2 separate regions of the Homo sapiens genome follow, and region 1 is linked to region 2. Evidence: promoter capture Hi-C in 16 types of primary human blood cells and fetal thymus (Javierre and others, 2016). All regions are on one chromosome and are shown on one strand. Each heading gives the region's core, a stretch centred on a gene start or on the middle of the fragment in contact. The rest is flanking DNA. Distances are from core to core; before and after follow the strand shown. Region 1 overlaps ACTN4 (actinin alpha 4). Region 2 holds the start of RASGRP4 (RAS guanyl releasing protein 4).

Evidence for each region. Contacts are between HindIII fragments. The CHiCAGO score rates a contact against its expected background, and 5 or more counts as called.
Region 1: a fragment that was not itself captured here is called in contact with the fragment with the promoter of RASGRP4 in region 2 in 1 of 17 cell types (neutrophils); the score reaches 5.4 in neutrophils.

The regions. Positions count from the first base shown.
Region 1 is chr19:38,653,299-38,656,699 of GRCh38, reverse strand. All of the region lies in intron 1 of ACTN4 (actinin alpha 4), which reads right to left. Among named protein-coding and RNA genes, the nearest start is that of ACTN4, 7.4 kb to the right of the region's middle. RefSeq lists a silencer at 912-961 and enhancers at 1,081-1,949, 1,950-2,818, 3,357-3,401. The HindIII fragment of the contact is 2,323 bases long and covers 507-2,829 here.
Region 2 is chr19:38,424,868-38,428,516 of GRCh38, reverse strand. It overlaps RASGRP4 (RAS guanyl releasing protein 4), which reads left to right and starts at 2,298. Exons shown (of 17, transcript NM_170604.3): 1 at 2,298-2,448. The coding sequence starts at 2,426. RefSeq lists an enhancer at 956-1,470 and a silencer at 2,363-2,422. The HindIII fragment of the contact is 20,985 bases long and covers 1-3,649 here.

The DNA of each region.
Region 1 (3,401 bases), core at 419-2,918, 230 kb before region 2:
TGGTGTTCTAGCATCCCATTCAATCATTGCAACACCATCCACGATATTTCCCAAGATGACTTCATTGTGTTCTGCAGGGTAGTAACTGCCGCTTCCAACTACTTCTGCCCCATGTGGATAGTTCCACTGGAAGACAAAGAATCTGTTCTGCTCTGATATTTGGAAGAAAAACATTTAAATAAGCCTTGTTAACTCAGCAGGAGGGCACTGCTTTCCTTTCAAAATGTAGGGTTCAAATCCGATGAAGGGGTGGCAGTGTGCTTTCTTCGTGGGAGGGGCCCAACTCTAAGAAGAAAACTGGAGCCTTAAGAGAAAAAGTTGGCTGGGCGTGGTGACTCACACCTGTAATCCCAAGACTTTGGGAGGCTGAGACCAGACTGGGCAACACAGCAAAACCCCATCTCTACAAAAACACAAAAATCAGTCAGGCGTGGTGGTGTGCACCTCTAGTCCCAGCTACTTGGGAAGCTGAGGTGGGGGGATGGCTTGAGCCCGAGGTCAAAGCTTCAGTGAGCCAAGATTGTTCCACTGCACTCCAGCCTTGGTAAAAAGAGTGACACCCTGTCTCAAAAAAAAGGAACAAAGGCAAGAAAAACGAAGAAAGAAAAAAGTTGTGTGAGGAACAAATGATAAACCCACATTTCTTACAGCTAGCCCTCTGTATCCATGGGTTCTCTATCTGTGAATTCAACCAACAATGGATCGAAAATACTGGAAGAAAAAAAATGAATGGTTGCATCTGCACTGAACATGTACATATTTTTGTCATTATTTCCTAAACAGCACAGTGTAACAACCATTTACGTAGCATTTAGCATTAGGTTATAAGTAATCTAGAGATGATTTAAAGTATTCAGGAGGATGTGCATAGTTAAAATGCAAATTACACATCGTTTTATCTTACATAAGGAACTTGAGCATCTGTGGATTTTGGTATATAAGGGGGTTCCTGGAACCAATCCCCCACAGATACTGAGAAATGACTGTATTTTCAATGTGTCCTGGTTTCTTACAAAACCTCAAAAGCACTAACACTTGAAACTGAAGATGAATCAAGCATCATCCAGTCATGAGCCATATGTTCGAGTCTAGTATGGCCGGATGACACACAGAGCCAAGAGGGGCTGTGTGCTCCTGGACAAGGTGCTGCCCTGCCCACCTCGACCAGATGAGATCAAGTTTTTTTCCCAAGTGTGACATACACACATGGAAAATTTTAAGGGTTATCTACACCTTACATTACACCCTGAATCACATTGAGAAAGTTATTTCCTTTGATTCTCTTGTAAACCTGATGACTTCAAAGAGAAAGTCTCTGCTTGGTGCTGGTGGGTCTTTAACACCTCACCAACACTTGCCAATCCCTTTCTAACAAAGGGAGCAGGCCTCAAGCCTGGGGGGCCTTCAGCCCGAGTGGTAACCACCTGGAAACAACACTGTTTTGTTTTCAATGTGTTTATTTTTGCAGTTTCCTTCTATTATATTTATGGCCAGGGGAGCTGGGTTTTCCAGTTGCCATACTCTTGTCAGTTTTCCTTTCAAAACTTAATTTAAAATGCAAACTGATTCAAAGGAAATTATTATGTGTCTATAAAAGTGGTTATGGAAAATCACAAATGGCTGCAGTTTACGAAGGAAGGGGATAAGCACAGGGGGACTGCTCTGGCTGGGGAGCCTCACTCCTGGGGGAGGGGGAGAGAATGGAACTCATCCCAGGAAGGAAGGAGCCAGCACAACAACAGGTGGCAAACAGCAAATCCCACGTAAACTCACTCCACTCGCCTTCAGATAACACTTGCATAAATCACAACCAAGAAAAAGGCCACTGACCTCTTCCAGAGTAAACGCTGTTCAAACTAAAGGGAAGGCAGGCAAATTACACCAATCAGCTTCTAAGACTTTCCACGGACATTCCAAGTTAATGCCTCTCTTGTTTATGGAGAAAGGGGAGGGGAGGGACGTGAAAAAACACAACCAAAAAAAGGCACAACACCAAGACAAATGCCTCGGGGATTTTTATAATCCCAGGGAAACTGCTACTTGGATAAAACTTCCCATGCACTGATGTAAGGATGCTCTTGCCAGTTAAATATATGCAAAGATTTAACTCCTTTTCTTTTTCTTTTTTTTTTTTTTTTGAGACGGAGCCTTACTCTGTCGTCCAGGCTGGAGTGCAGTGGCGTGATCTCAGCTGACTGCAACCTCCACCTTCCAGGTTTGAGTGATTATCCTGCCTCAGCCTCCCCAGTAGCTGGGATTACAGGGGTGCACCACCGTGCCCGGCTAATTTTTTGCATTTTAGTAGAGATGGGGTTTCACCATGTTCGCCAGGCTGGTCTTGAAGTCCTGACCTCACGTGATCCACCTACCTCGACCTCCCAAAGTGCTGGGATTACAGGCGTGAGCCACCACACCCGGCGATTTCACTTTCTGGAGGAGGCGGGATCCTTCCCTGGGTCAGGTGGTTAATTTCTCCCCTTCATAAGATCCTTCTTTAAACAGAGGCTGGAATTTAAAATGATTCTGTTTCTCTTTGATTCATTGAAAGTTACACTCCTTGATGCCTGGGATACCGAGTAAAATGTAACTCATAGACCTTCTTGAAGAAAAGTTAAGTGATACCTGGGCCACTTTCAGACACTTTATAACAAATTCTGGCGCCTAGGCTGCCAACACTGTAAAACTAAGTTTCCTTGTAACTTGCTTTGATGTTTCCAAGTTTAAACCCATTCTAAAGAAGACTAATGAGCTCTCAAACTACCCAGTGATAGAAAGACTTCTTTCAAATCTCCACGGATGACAGTATTTGTATCTGCTCAAGTAGAAGCTTCCGTCTCTCTTGTAACAGGTCAGTGCTTCAGTTACCACTGCCATTGAATTACCCACTTGCTATCACTTGCCTCTTATTTCCATAAAAAAAGAAACGGAGGAAAAAACTGTTTAAGTTTTACCTTGTTTAAAAGTAACACGAGTGCTTTTGTTATTCTGTAAACTAAATACATAAATGAAGGCAAAGGAAGGAAACTGAGGGAAGGGAACAAAATGTGAGTGATGAAAACACGGAGTTCATTAAATGAAGGAATAAAGATAAAGCCGGGGAAAACACTGCTCTAGGATATACTAAGGCAAGGGAAGAGATAAACATGTTGATATTTCAGCTATTCAGAAAACCTGAACGAGCAAGTGATACTAGAGCAAACAGCTGTTCACTAATTATATTTGCCCTTCCCTTCTGCCCTTCAAAAAAGTAAAAGCAGCAGCAAGGGAATCTTTTTTTTTTTTTTTTAAAGAACAACCCTAAGGTCTGGTCAAAGGCTTGTACAATTCCCAGCACAACATAAATCAGTGTAGCAAAAACGGAAAGTGTTCATCTCAACGGTTTCAAATTCCTTGGGCCTTCC
Region 2 (3,649 bases), core at 1,049-3,548:
GTGGCACACACCTGTGATCCCAGATACTGGGGAGGCTGAGGCAGGAGAATCGCTTCAATCGCAGAGGTTGCAGTGAGCTGAGATCACGCCACTGCACTCCAGACTGGGCGACAGAGCAGGACTCTGTCTCAAAAATAAAAAAAAAAAATAGAAGTTAGCATGCCACCAGCCCGCTTAGTCACTATCCACAACACCTATCTCTAAATAAATAAATATATATATATAAGTCATGGAATTGTCACATAATGAAAGACTATATGGAATTATTATTATTATTATTATTATTATTATTTTGAGACAGAGTCTCGCTCTGTCGCCCAAGCTGAAGTGCAGTGGTGCAATCTCGGCTCGCTACAACCTCCTCCTCCCGGGTTCAAGCGATTCTCCTGCCTCAGCCTCCCAAGTAGCTGGGATTACAGGCACGCACCACCACACCTGGCTCATTTTTGTATTTGTAGTAGAGATGGGAGTTTCACCATGTTGGCCAGACGGGTCTCGAACTCCTGACCTCAAGTGATCTGCCCATCTCAGCCTCCCAAAGTGCTGGGATTACAGGCGTGAGCCACCGCGCCCGGCCAAAAAAAGGAATAAATTATAACCAAATATGATAACATGGAAGAACTGCAAAGACAAGACGTGGAGAGAAAGAACCCAGATTCAATACAGGAGTCCATTTTTATCCAGCTCAAAACAAGACAAAACTACTGCGCCAGACTTCGGGCGAGTGGGGATCTGTGGGAATTCGTGCTGGGAAGAAAGACAGGGGGCTTGTGGAGGGTGAGAATGTTCTGTGTCTGGATTTGTATGAATGTCACACAGGTTTGCTCAGTTGGTGACATTTCATCAACCTAAATACTTAATGATTCGTGATCTTTTTTGTACTTCAATTTAAAAAAAAGTGTCGAGCATGACACATTTAGGTAAAAAGAAAAAAATGCACACTCAAAAGAAAAGTCTGTTTCTAGGAGCACATGTTTATATGATGTGCTTAAACGCACAGACAGCAGTTTGGACGAAACTCGACAACGTGTCATATTGGTCACACCCTGCTTAAGAAAGGCAGGGGATGGGGAGGGGCTTCCCCAAGGCTTTACCTCCATCTCTAATGTTTTTTGATGTGTGTGTGTGTTTTTTTTTTTTGTTTTTTGTTTTTTGAGACAGGGTCTGGCTCTGCCACGCAGACTGAAGTGCAGTGGCACCATCATGGTTCACTGCAGCCTCGACCTCCTTGGGCTCAAGCAATCTTCTAGCCTCAGCCTCCTGAGTAGCTGGGACTACAAGTGTGCATCACTACGCTCAGCTAACTTTTTTTTTTTGAGACAGAGTTTCGCTCCTGTTGCCCAGGCTGGAGTGCAATGGCGCGATCTCGGCTCACGGCAACCTCCGCCTCCTGGGTTCAAGCAATTCTCCTGCCTCAGCCTGCCGAGTAGCTGGGATTACAGGCATGTGCCACAACGCCTGGCTAATTTTGTATTTTTAGTAGAGACGGGGTTTCTCCATGTTGCTCAGGCTGGTCTTAAACTCCCAACCTCAGGTGATCCGCCCACCTCGGCCTCCCAAAGTGCTGGGATTGCAGGAGTGAGCCACCACACCGGCCTAACGTTTTACATTTTTTGTAGAGACGGGGTTTTGTCACGTTGTTCAAGCTGGTCTCAAACTCTTAGACTCAAGCGATCCGCCTGCCTTGGCCTCCCAAAGTGCTGGATGACAGGCGTGAGCCCCTGTGAGCCCCCGTGCCTGGTCCGGTATGTAATTTTTTTTAAGGTAACAGTGGATTGTGTGAGGATTAAATGAGTTAATATTTTTAAAGTCCTTACAGCAGTGTGTGGTACACAGTAGGTGCTATGTGGAGGTTTGTTACAATAAAGTCAGAAAGTGAAAATGTTTTCCAGGGTACAAATGGTATCACTTAAACTAGGAATAAGAGACGCCTATGAAGAAATATACAAAATACTATGTCTTGTGAGTTTCCATTCAAACCTTCATGAATTATATATATGAATATGTCCTTCTAGACAGACAGACTTATCTTTTTGAGTGAGTGTGTGTGTTTTTACATAAATATCAGTCATGCTTTAAAAAGAAAAGCCCCTTCTTTTATTGAAGTATGACAGTGACGGGTCTCGACACCGAAAGATGGGGGAGATAGAGAGCCCGCCGGGGAGCTTGAGGGTGGGAGAGCCAGCGATGCCGGAAACCTCAGCAGAAGGGATCCCCGTGTGGGGGAGGGGGGCCTTCGGTCTCTCCCCAGCCTCTTCCTTCCCCCTGGCCTGAGGGTGGGTGGGGAGGGGCAGTTCCTCTTTCCTTCCCAAGCACCGAGGAGGCCCCAGCTCCCTAGGGGCTGAGAAGCTGGAGTCCTGGGCAAGGGGAGGAGCTGAGCCCTACTCTTGCAAGACCCCCGGCCTCCTCACCCCACGCGGGAAGCATGAACAGAAAAGACAGTAAGAGGTGAGAGGACCCTCCCCAGGGAGCCCGGCAGCACCCTGAGGCCTCCCTCTGCATGGGAGGGCTGGGGAGATCACTCGCCAGGGTGGCAGGATTCCTGACTTCTTTGGGATCAGGCGCAGGGGGGCCAGGTGGATGCTTCAGGGAGTCTGGAGCCAGCTACGGCTGCAGTCGCTTGTATGTGGCATCTGTACCGTGTTGTCCCTGGAGTTTGAGCTGCTCCGTGCCCCTTTTCCACTCCTCATCACCCCACCTCCATCCCTGGCCTGGGCTGAGTGTCTCTGCCCTCCCTGGGGGCTTCCTGGTTCCCCATCCCCGTGGACTGGAAACTCCAGGCTCCTGCAGGGCCTGGCCCAGGAGAGGGGAGTGTGGCACAGGGCAAGGCGACTCCCCTGCCTCTTAAACCACTCCTGGCTGTTCCAGACCCCTACAGGGGGCTGCAGGACAGGGCCTAGTGGCTGGCTGTGCGGCCGGTTCTGGAATGGGCTTCATCTCCTGGGCAAGCTGGCCCTTCTGTCCCCACAGAGGCAGATGGTGGGTGGCTCCCTAGCCTGGGTAACTCCTCCTGCCACCCCCAGCACCACTCTGATGGGCAAAGGGCTTTCCTCCCCACCCAGCAGTTTAGTGGTAGACTCCTGGCTGCCTAATTTCCTAGCTGTGTGACCTTAGGTAAGTCACTTAACTGCTCTGTGTCTCGGGTTTTTCTTCTGTCAGTAGAACAATCATATCCTCTACCTCGGAGAGGCCTGTAAGTACTCAATGAGACACTCTAGACCAGTGGTTCTCAAACTGGAGCGAGCCTCAGAACTGTCTGGAGGGCTTGTAAAATACAGGTTGCTGGGCTTACCTTTAAAGTGTTTGGTTTTTTTTTTTTTGTTTTTTTTTTTTGAGACGGAGTCTCGCTCTGCCGCCAGGCTGGAGTGCAGTGGCACAATCTTGGCTCACTGCAACCTCTGCCTCCCGGGTTCAAGCGATCATCCTGCCTCAGCCTCCCAAGTAGCTGGGACTACAGGTGTGCACCACCACACCCAGCTACTTTTTTGTATTTTTAGTAGAGATGGGGTTTCACCATGTTGGGCAGGATGGTCTCGATCTCTTGACCTCGTGATCCACCCACCTCGGCCTCCCAAAGTGCTGGGATTAGAGGCATGAGCCACCACCCTTAGCCTTAAAGTGTTTGATTTTGTAGGTCTGGGTTGGGACC